Linked DNA regions of Homo sapiens: region 2 is linked to region 1. The links are contacts of gene promoters, found by promoter capture Hi-C in human tissues and cell types (Jung and others, 2019). All regions are on one chromosome and are shown on one strand. The core of a region is centred on a gene start or on the middle of the fragment in contact, and the rest is flanking DNA. Distances in the headings are between cores, read along the strand shown. Region 1 holds the start of FBXO40 (F-box protein 40). Region 2 overlaps CD86 (CD86 molecule).

Region 1 (5,038 bases), core at 692-3,191:
ACCTTGGAGACCTTGGTGCTGTGGAGGCCCTGGAAAAATTAAATGAAGTTAGGTGATTATACACAGTGAATTTGCTTGTGCCCAGGAAACAGGCATAATGATAACCCAGACACCTATAGCAGAGTCTTGGGGTACATATGGAGGTTACAGAGACAGGCAGGAAGGAACCAGGAGTTAAGGTATCTGAATAGTTAGTTTAGGTCTCCTTTTACTTGGCATCGGTGGCTTTAGCCTGTACACATCAAAGGTCAGAGTGTACAGAATCCCTTTTGCTGCATAGGCCACTTCCCAGGATGTCCTTAGCTGAACTTTGAACCAGTGAAAAACAAGAAAATAAACACTGCTCCCTTACCTTGCCAATTTTTAGTGCATGCAACACTATACAGTTATTCCAGAAGCGAGAAACTATCTGTCTAAAGTTATAACTTTTGATACCTCAAGTATCATTAGTCATTTTACTTTTATCCCTCTGAATATGCAAAATTGTTCAAGCTTGTAACAATCTTTGGTTTTGGTGCATAAGCCTATATAAGTTTTTCAACTTGAGAAATATTTCACTTATATTTCATGGATGCATTTTGGACTCAAGAGAGCTGGGGAGAAGAGGGCCACACTTAGAGAATATTGTTGGCGAAAAAAAGGTGTTAAACTCTGCGGAGTTTGAATAGTATATACAGAAAATACAGTTGTGCTTATTAACCAGTAGTATGACACAGCAGACGAAATTTTAAGCTACATGAGAATGACTTGCAAGCAAACATAGCAAATGTTGACTGGAGAAAAGATCACAGCATTTAGACTTTAGAAAACAGAAATTCTGATCAGGCACAGCGGCTCATGCTTGTATTCTCAGCACTTTGGGAGGCCGAAGCGGGTGGATCACTTGAGGCCAGGAGTTCAAGACCAGCCTGGCCAACATGGTGAAACCCCATCTCTACTAAAAATACAAAAATTAGCCAGGCGTGGTGGCACAGGCCTGTAGTCCCAGCTACTCAGGAGGCTGAAGCAGGAGGCTCTCTTGAACCTAGAAGGTGGAGGTTGCAGTGAGCTGAGACTGCACCACTGCACTCCAGCCTGGGCAACAGAGTGAGACTCTGTCTCAAAAAAATAATAACAATGAATTAAATAAATAAATAAATAATAGAAATTCTGGGCCAGGCACAGTGGCTCAGACCTGTAATCCCAGCGCTTTTGGAGGCTGAGGTGGGCGGATCATTTGAGGCCAGGAGTTCAAGACCAGCCTAGCCATCAAGGTGAAACTCTGTCTCTACTAAAAAAATACAAAAATTGGCCGGATGTGGTGGCATGTGCCTGTAGTCTCAGCTACTCGGAAGGCTGAGGCAGGAGAATCACTAGAACCTGGGAGGTAGGGGCTGCAGTGAGCCAAGATGGTGCCACTGCACTCCAGCCTGGGTGACAGAGCAAGACTGTCTCAAAAAAGAAAGAAAAGGGAATAGAAATCCTGGATTCTAGGCCTTCCACTTGTTTCCTCACCACCTCCTCCACTTCCCCAGATCCCCCCACCCATCACCATGTTGTAACTTTACAGATATCATAACTACTCTTGTTGATTATAGAAGAAAGAACCTAAGCTGTCAGAAAGCAAGTACTCTACCTGCTCTTGAAATGGAAACAGAAATTTACACACGGCTGGATCTCATTCTCAGTGCCAGCCTTTCCCCCACATCTTTACATAACTAATTTGCTTAACAATCCTCTTCCACAGGACACAAAAGTGATATGCGGCTCAGCTTCATCTGCATATTCACCACTGAATGTCCTCGTCATGGTGCACCTGCTCCTGTTTGAATACTTACCTTAATGGAACAGGCTGAGTCAGCATCTGCTTGCACCTGAACCCTTGATTGCAAGTAAGCGGATTGCCGGGAGGTGGCTGGGTTGCATCAGCTGCAGTAGAGGACAGCGTTCTGTTGGGAAGGCAGGGAAAGGAGAGAAAACTTCAACAGAAATAGTCCAAGTGTTGCGAAGTTAAAAATAAAACGATATCACAAGGGGCAATGTGACCAGGCTCAGCTTACGACTTTTTCCTTCCCCTGTATTTATCAACACTCAGTCTCTACTGGAGTGGCATTTAGCAGGGGAAACTGAATGGGAAGTGAAGTTTTATATCAATAGGTTTTCTTTCCCTTGAGGAAGGAGGAAAATCCTTTTAAGAAGGATCATTTTCAAGGCCAGAACAGCCTCTCAGATTCCTGCATGTGCAGTCGGCAGGCCCAGCTGTGCTGAAGGAGGCTGGCACAGCCTTCAGGACTGGCTGCTGCTCTAATTATAACCATGCTCCTCACCTAAACCCATCACTGGCTGAAGCAGCAACTTGTGCAAATGACATGGTGTCCTGCTTCAGTTTCTCCTATCTCTTGTCGTGACAAGTAAGTGTCTGTCCTCCCCTGGTCCTTTCATCTTTCCTGGAAAAGGGAGAGTTTGTAATTCAGATACCAGGTGTAGAGTAAATCCAGTGTGAGAGAATTAGAGGTTGTAGGAGGCTTTAGCTGTCATTTAGTCCAGCTCCCTCTTTTTACAGATGAGGAGACAGAGATTCAGAAAAGGGAAATTGCTCATCCAAGGTCACACATCTCGTTAGTGGAAGAGCCAGAGGAAAGCCCCAGAGAGCTTGTTTAACTCTCAGTCTAGCGTTCTTTATCTTATCATCTTCAGATAAACTCATTCAGGATCTTGTGAGTGAAAAAAATATAGAATCCCGGCTTTGGTGTTTTCTTTTTCTTTTTTTTTTTTTTGAGACAGAGTCTCGCTCTGTTGCCCAGGATAGAGTGCAGTGGCGTGATCTCGGCTCACTGCAACCTCCACCTCCTGGCTTCAAGTGATTCTCCTGCCTCAGCCTCCTGAGTATCTGGGATTACAGGCACGTACCACCATACCTGGCTAATTTTTGTATTTTTAGCAGAGACGGGGTTTCACCATGTTTGTCACGCTGGTCTCGAAATCCTGACCTCATGATCCTCCCACCTCAGCCTCCCAAAGTGCTGGGATTAGGTATGTGATTTTGACAAATTTACTTAACCATTTTCTATTTCAGTTTTCCCCATTGTGAAATGGCGATGATACTTGGTGCGACCACAGGTAACTGTGTCAGTACACATAAGGCACATGAATGATATGTACCACATGCCAAGTGCTCCACAATGCCAGCTGTTATTTGAATGTATTTGAATGTATTTTGACTAACAGCAGATGTGCTAAATTTGGCTGTGATTAACAGCCATCGAATTAACCTTTCCCCTGGATTCTTCATACATATATGTCCTTGGAGGTAAACTTATTTGGAATGAGCAAATAGCAGTTGAAAATTGTAAAAAATTTCTACACTGATCTTGTATCTTGAAACTTTGCTGAACTGGTTTATTAGTTCTAATAGTTTTCTTGTGGATTCCTTAGGATTTTCAAGACCATGCCATCTGTTAACAAAAATATTTTAACTTCTTTCTTTGCGATTTGGATGCCTTTAACTTCCTTTTCTTGCTGTTTTTCCCTGCCTAGAACTTCCAGCACTATGTTTAACAAGAGTGGTGAGAGTGGCCACACTTCACTTGTTCCTGATCTTAGGGGGGAAGCATTCAGTCTTCCACCAATAAGTACAATGTTACCTGTGGATTTTTGTAGATGGCCTTTATCAAGTTGAAGGAGAGGAGTTTGATAGTTTGTTCTAGTTTGTTGAGTGAATCAAGAAAGAGTGTGGATCTTCATCAAATGCTTTTTCTGTGCCCAGCAAGATGATCATGTGGTTTTTGTCCTTTATTCTATTAATATCGTGTATTACATTGATGAATTTTTTTATGTTGAATCAATCTTCCATTCCTGAATAAACCCTACTTGGTCATGGTATCTATCCTTTTTATATGTTGCTAAATTTAGTTTGTTAGTATTTTATTGAGAATTTGTTTTTTCAAGTCAGATGCATAATGTGCCAATGTTGAAACAAGCTTCGAGGGTAGCACTCACACATCCACGTGAATGCCCAATCATCACATTCATGAACTACAAAAGGATCTTATTGAGGATTTTTGCGTCTATATTCAGAAGAGGTATTACAGGTTGAGTATCCCCAATCTGAAATCTGAATTCCAAAATGCTTTAAAATCCAAAATTATTTGAGTGCTGATGTGACACCACAAGAGGAAAGTTCCACACTTGGCCTCATATGGTGGGTCATAGTCAAAACGCACTCGAAACTTTGTTTCATCCACAGAGTTACTTAAAATATTGTGCAATTACCTTCAGGCTATGTATATAAGGTGTATATGAAACATAAATGAGTTGTGTTTAGGCTGGTGTCCCATCCCCAAGATATCTCATTATGTATGTGCAAATATTCCAAAAACTCCAAATCTGAAACGCTTCTGGTTCCAAGCATTTCCAATAGGGGATACTCACTATAATCTGTAGTTCCCTTATGGCGTCTTTGTTCAGCTTTGGTATCCAGATAATATCGATCTCATAAAATGAGTTCCCTCCTCTTTTGTTTTTTTTGGAAAAGTTTATGAAGGATTGGTGTTAATTCTTCTTTAAACATTTTGGTAGAATTTAGCAGTGAAGCCATCTGGGACTGGGCTTTTCTTTGTGGGAAGTTTTCAATTGTTAACTCAATCTCTGTGCTTGTTATAACTCTGTCTCAGTCTGTTTTTGTGTTGTTATAACAGAATACCTGAGACTGGGTAATTTATGAAGAGAGATTTATTTCTTACAGTTCTGAAGGCTGGGAAGTCTTCCAGTCTCAGACGGAAGATGGAGGGGCCACACCTGGCCAGGGCCTTCATGTTTCATCCTCCCATGGCAGAAGGAAGGGAGAGGAGGAGGTAAGAGAGAGAGAGAAAGATAGAGGTGGGGGTGGGGATAAAGATTTTGGGGAAGAAGAAGGCCGAACTCATCCTTTTATCAGGAACCCACTTCTGAGATAACTAACCCACTCCCACAATAATGGCATTAATCCATTCATGGGGGCTCTGCCTAGTAACCCTTAAAGGTCTCACCTCTCAAAGCTGTTGCTTTGGGGATTAAGTTT
Region 2 (5,038 bases), core at 1,304-3,803, 480 kb before region 1:
TTAATACTAAATTAGAAAGCAGTATCATTTTCCATAAACAGATCAGTAAAAATAACATATCACACTGCACTTTGGAGTCATAGAGACCTGTGTTCAAACCCTGCTCCACTACTTAATGCCTGTGTGTTCTTGGGGCAGTTATTTAACCTCTCTGAGCTTTGGCTTCCTCACAGAAGTAATACTAAATATCTCATAGGCATGTCATGACGGTTAAATAACATGGCATATATATGGTGCTTAGCACAGATCCTGGCAATAGTAGGCTCTTAAAAAACAAGTTGTTTTATTGTTTTCCCTTCCATAGCACTTCTTTAATCTACTTATTTCAGTTCCTATTTAGAGCAGCCTCCTCCAATGCTGTAACGTAGAATGATATTAAAAGGAGTAAAGAGAGATGAATGGTGAGGCAGGCAGCAGAAATGAGGGGGTGATATGGTGTCATGGAATTCTCTTATTCTCCAACTTAGCTAGAGTTGCTGGACTGTAAGGGACCTCAAAACTCATCATTCCAGTCTCTCACTCAAGCAAGGACCCCTTCAGTGTCATGACAGATGCGTGTCTAGCCTGTGCTTTCTTACTTGTCAGGTTGGGAAATTCACTATTAGAAAAGAGAGTTAACAGAAAAATGTCTTTTTTATAAATAATCCCCAAACTACTGCCACTCACTCCTCCAATCCATAAGTACCAGCTACTTGTCTCTGTCCTGTTTTCTAGAACTACCAGAACATATTATTTTATCCTTTTATATAAACCCTTCCAAATAGCTGAAAGCTGATTTTGTAAATTTTATTAATAGTCTCTCCTCTCAGCTAAATACTACAGTGTTCTCAACTGCCCCTCATGTCGATAGTCTCTAGGACCCTCACCCATTGGCAGCTCTGCCACCAGCACCCTTCTCCCTGAGTCAGTCAACCTACCTCCTAGCAGAGAAGGCTCTCAGGGCAGAACAGGCAGTGAACAAGATCACTTTTGTTAAAGAGTCAGAGATTGAATTAGCCTTTCAACAGTTGCAGGGGGTTGCTGACCACGGCTTTTTTTTTTTTCACATGTCAAGTCATATCGCAACCCCCTTGCCCCATCTTGTTTGTGTGACAGGCCAGCAGTCAGCCAATCAAAATTCCTCTGACTCCCACATATGTCATCAGAGCCAAGGGTGGAGTGGGGCCAACCGTGATGGTGGTCAACAGTGTTGTCCTTGGCTGACCAGAGGCCGAGCCCAGTGGAGAAGATCAGTTCCTTGTGTTTGGTGAGGAGGAAGTTGCTGAGGTTACTTCAGAAACTGCTTTCTGTGTGGGGCTGCTTCCTCCACTGCCTCATTCTCCAACGCTCTCAGGACTGAAGAGGCCAAGGCTGCAAGTAGAAGCAACCAGAGGAGGACAGGCTACACACAGTAGCTGGTGTGTGTGGGTGTGGAAGTTGACCTCACCAAACTTCACCAGAGAGAGTCCCCTGAGGACCACACAGTCAGGATCTACTCCATGTGCCAGAGCCAGAAACCCGTGGGAGTCTAGAAACATCTGAACATTTAGCTGAGTTTTCCAATTTCAGCCATCTGTTTGTTGTTATATGGAAGTGGCCTCCTGCGGCCAGTGGTCAAGTCTAAAAGCACTCTAGGAGGCGGTGCTGATGGTAGTTCTAATACAGAATAGTTTCCACAAATAATTAGAGCAGCATTATTTATTGAAACGTTAATTAGTGTTTGTTTTCTAAGCTTTCTTGATGCAAGGGGGAAAGCAGAAGAGATACAAGTTCAAAGGTTCATCCAGACTTTTGTGAAAGCCCATGGAAGAGATGATACCGGTGGCTTAGAGGTGAAAAGAGAGGAAGAGAGTGCTTTTGAAGTGCAAGAAGAAGGGAGGGCAGGGGATGGTTGTCTGGGTCCTGTGAGCAGTAGAAACCCAACTGCCCCTCCATCAGTGCTCCCGAGGGGGTAGCAACCTCAGGTGTGATGGCTCATGCCTAGAAAGGCAGCATGCTTTGCTCATGGGGCCCAGCATCAGTAGATATTCTCATTCCCCACTGTGGCATGGGGGCAGGGAGCTGCCGGACTTCACAGACCACTATGGGCTCAGATAGTAAGGGTGCCAATGGCAACCAGGACAGACTAGGGACTTGAGGCCCTTCCATCATTTTCCAGTTACCAGGTGAACTTCTTGAATTCTGACTGGGCTGCAGGAAAGGAAGGAGACTCCTGCATGACCCAGTTACAGTCTCTTTTTCAACTGGCAGGATTGAGGCTCACCAGTGGGATTAAGTTGAGTTAAAGGAAATTTTCAAAGTGATGATTTCATATATACTTGGATTCATGGACAGAAATTCATATCCTATGCATAATATAATCTATGTGAGAAGGGCCAGGATTTCACCGTAAACACAGTTCCTGAATTATTCTTAATTTAGAAGTGATGCAGCTCAGGACTGGGTTGTCTTCTTACTCCCAGCCCTGCTGCACAATTGCCAATAAAGGAGGATTGTCAACCACAGCCCCCAGGACTTGACACTCCCCTTTAATTAAACCCTGCTGGGTCCATAGTTCCCTGACATCACCTGAGAGTGAACATAAGACATTTGCAATAAATTTTTATTTTTACTGCTACTGTAAATTGTATTTTTAAAACCCTTCCTCCTTAAAGCAGAAACATGTATCAACCATTATATGAATAAAAAGACACGCCAAAGATTGGGGAAAAAATATTTGCAAAAGATATATCTGATAAAGGGCTGGTATCCAAAATACACAATGAACTCTTATAACTCAAAGATAAAAGAACAAACAGCCCAATTTAATAAGGAGCAAAAGATCTGAACATATACCTCACCAAAGAAGGTACACGGACAGCAAATAAGCATATGAAAAGGTGGTCAGCATCATACCTCATTAGAGAATTGCAAATTAAAACAGTAAGATACCACTACACATCTAGTAGAATGGCTAAAATCCAAAAATCTGACAATACCAAATGCTGCTGAGGATGTGGAGCAATGAGGCTTCCTGTTGCTCCACATCCTCAGCAGCATTTGGTATTGTCAGATTTTTGGATTTTACCCATTCTAGTAGATGTATAGTGACAGAGCCCTCAGAAATAAGGCCGCATATCTACAACTATCTGATCTTTGACAAACCTGAGAAAAACAAGCAATGGGGAAAGGATTCCCTGTTTAATAAATGGTGCTGGGAAAACTGGCTAGCCATATGCAGAAAGCTGAAACTGGATCCCTTCCTTACACCTTATACAAAAATCAATTCAAGATGGATTAAAGACTTAAACATTAGACCTAAAACCATAAAAACCCTAGAAGAAAACCTAGACATTACCATTCAGGACATAGGCATGGGCAAGGACTTCATGTCTAAAACACCAAAAGCAATGGCAACCAAAGCCAAAATTGACAAATGGGATCTAATTAAACTAAAGAGCTTCTGCACAGCAAAAGAAAATACCATCAGAGTGAACAGGCAACCTACAAAATGGGAAAAAATTTTTGCAACCTACTCATCTGACAAAGGGCTAATATCCAGAATCTACAATGAACTCAAACAAATTTACAAGAAAAAAACAAACAACCCCATCAAAAAGTGGGCAAGGGATATGAACAGACACTTCTCAAAAGAAGACATTTATGCAGCCAAAAGACACATGAAAAAATGCTCACCATCACTGGCCATCAGACAAATGCAAATCAAAACCACAATGAGATACCATCTCACACCAGTTAGAATGGCAATCATTAAAAAGTCAGGAAACAACAGGTGCTGGAGAGAATGTGGAGAAATAGGAACACTTTTACACTGTTGGTGGGACTGTAAACTAGTTCAACCATTGTGGAAGTCAGTGTGGCGATTCCTCAGGGATCTAGAACTAGAAATACCATTTGACCCAGCCATCCCATTACTGGGTATATACCCAAAGGACTATAAATCATGCTGCTATAAAGACACATGCACACGTATGTTTATTGTGGCACTATTCACAATAGCAAAGACTTGGAACCAACCCAAATGTCCAACAATGATAGACTGGATTAAGAAAATATGGCACATATACACCATGGAATACTATGCAGCCATAAAAAATGATGAGTTCATGTCCTTTGTAGGGACATGGATGAAATTGGAAATCATCATTCTCAGTAAACTACCGCAAGGACAAAAAACCAAACACCGCATGTTCTCACTCATAGATAGGAGTTGAACAATGAGAACACATGGACACAGGAAGGGGAACATCACACTCTGGGGACTGTTGTGGGGTGGGGGGAGGGGGGAGGGATAGCATTAGGAGATTTACCTCCTAATGCTAAATGATGAGTTAATGGGTGCAGCACACCAACATGGCACATGTATACATATGTAACTAACCTGCACATTGTGCACACATACCCTAAAACTTAAAGTATAATAAAAAAAAAATAAAGAAAAGAATGCAAAATGGTAAAACTACTTTGGGATATAGTTTAGCAGTTTCTTAAAAAAGTAAATATACTCTTACCATATGATCCAGCAGTCACACTTCTAGGTATATTTACTCAATTGAATTGAAGACTTATGTCCACACAAAACCTACACGTGAATATGTATAGCCACTTTATTCATAATTAGCAACTAAGATGCCCCTCAGTTGGTAAAGCTGTGGTATATCCAGACAATGGAATATTATGTGGTAATAAATAGAAATGAGCCATCAAGATGTGAAAAGACATGGAGAAAACTTAAATTCATATTGCTTAATGAAAGAAGTCAATCTGAAAAGGGTACATACTGTATGATTCCAAAGATAGAACATTCTGGAAAAGGCAAAACTGTGGAGACAGTAAAAAGATCAGTGGTTTCCAGGGGTTGGGGAGGGGTGGGAAGGGTCAACAGGCAGAGCACAGGGGATTCTTAGGGCAGTGAAGCTATTCTGTATGATACTATAATGGTGGATACATGACATTGTGTATTTGTCAAAATCCATAGAACTGTACAACCCAAAGAGAGAAACTTAATGTAAATTATGGGCTTTAAATAATAATAATAATGAAGCAACAATGGCTTGAT

What was found. The method cuts DNA at HindIII sites, captures the fragments that hold promoters and counts their contacts. A contact is called where the count stands out against the background at its distance.
Region 2: a contact is called between a fragment that was not itself captured here and the fragment with the promoter of FBXO40 in region 1, in 3 of the 25 tissues and cell types used here (liver, lymphoblastoid cells and thymus).

What each region holds. Positions count from the first base shown.
Region 1 is chr3:121,590,282-121,595,319 of GRCh38, reverse strand. It overlaps FBXO40 (F-box protein 40), which reads right to left and starts at 1,941. Exons shown (of 4, transcript NM_016298.4): 1 at 1,818-1,941. It overlaps ARGFX (arginine-fifty homeobox), which reads right to left. Exons shown (of 5, transcript NM_001012659.2): 5 at 4,698-5,038. LOC124906360 (small nucleolar RNA U13) reads right to left here and starts at 4,026; the gene lies at 3,926-4,026. RefSeq lists enhancers at 1,269-1,920, 1,921-2,571, 1,385-2,584 and a silencer at 1,704-1,998. The HindIII fragment of the contact is 12,396 bases long and covers 1-5,038 here.
Region 2 is chr3:122,071,102-122,076,139 of GRCh38, reverse strand. All of the region lies in intron 1 of CD86 (CD86 molecule), which reads right to left. Among named protein-coding and RNA genes, the nearest start is that of CD86, 18 kb to the right of the region's middle. RefSeq lists an enhancer at 1,105-1,444. The HindIII fragment of the contact is 6,239 bases long and covers 1-5,038 here.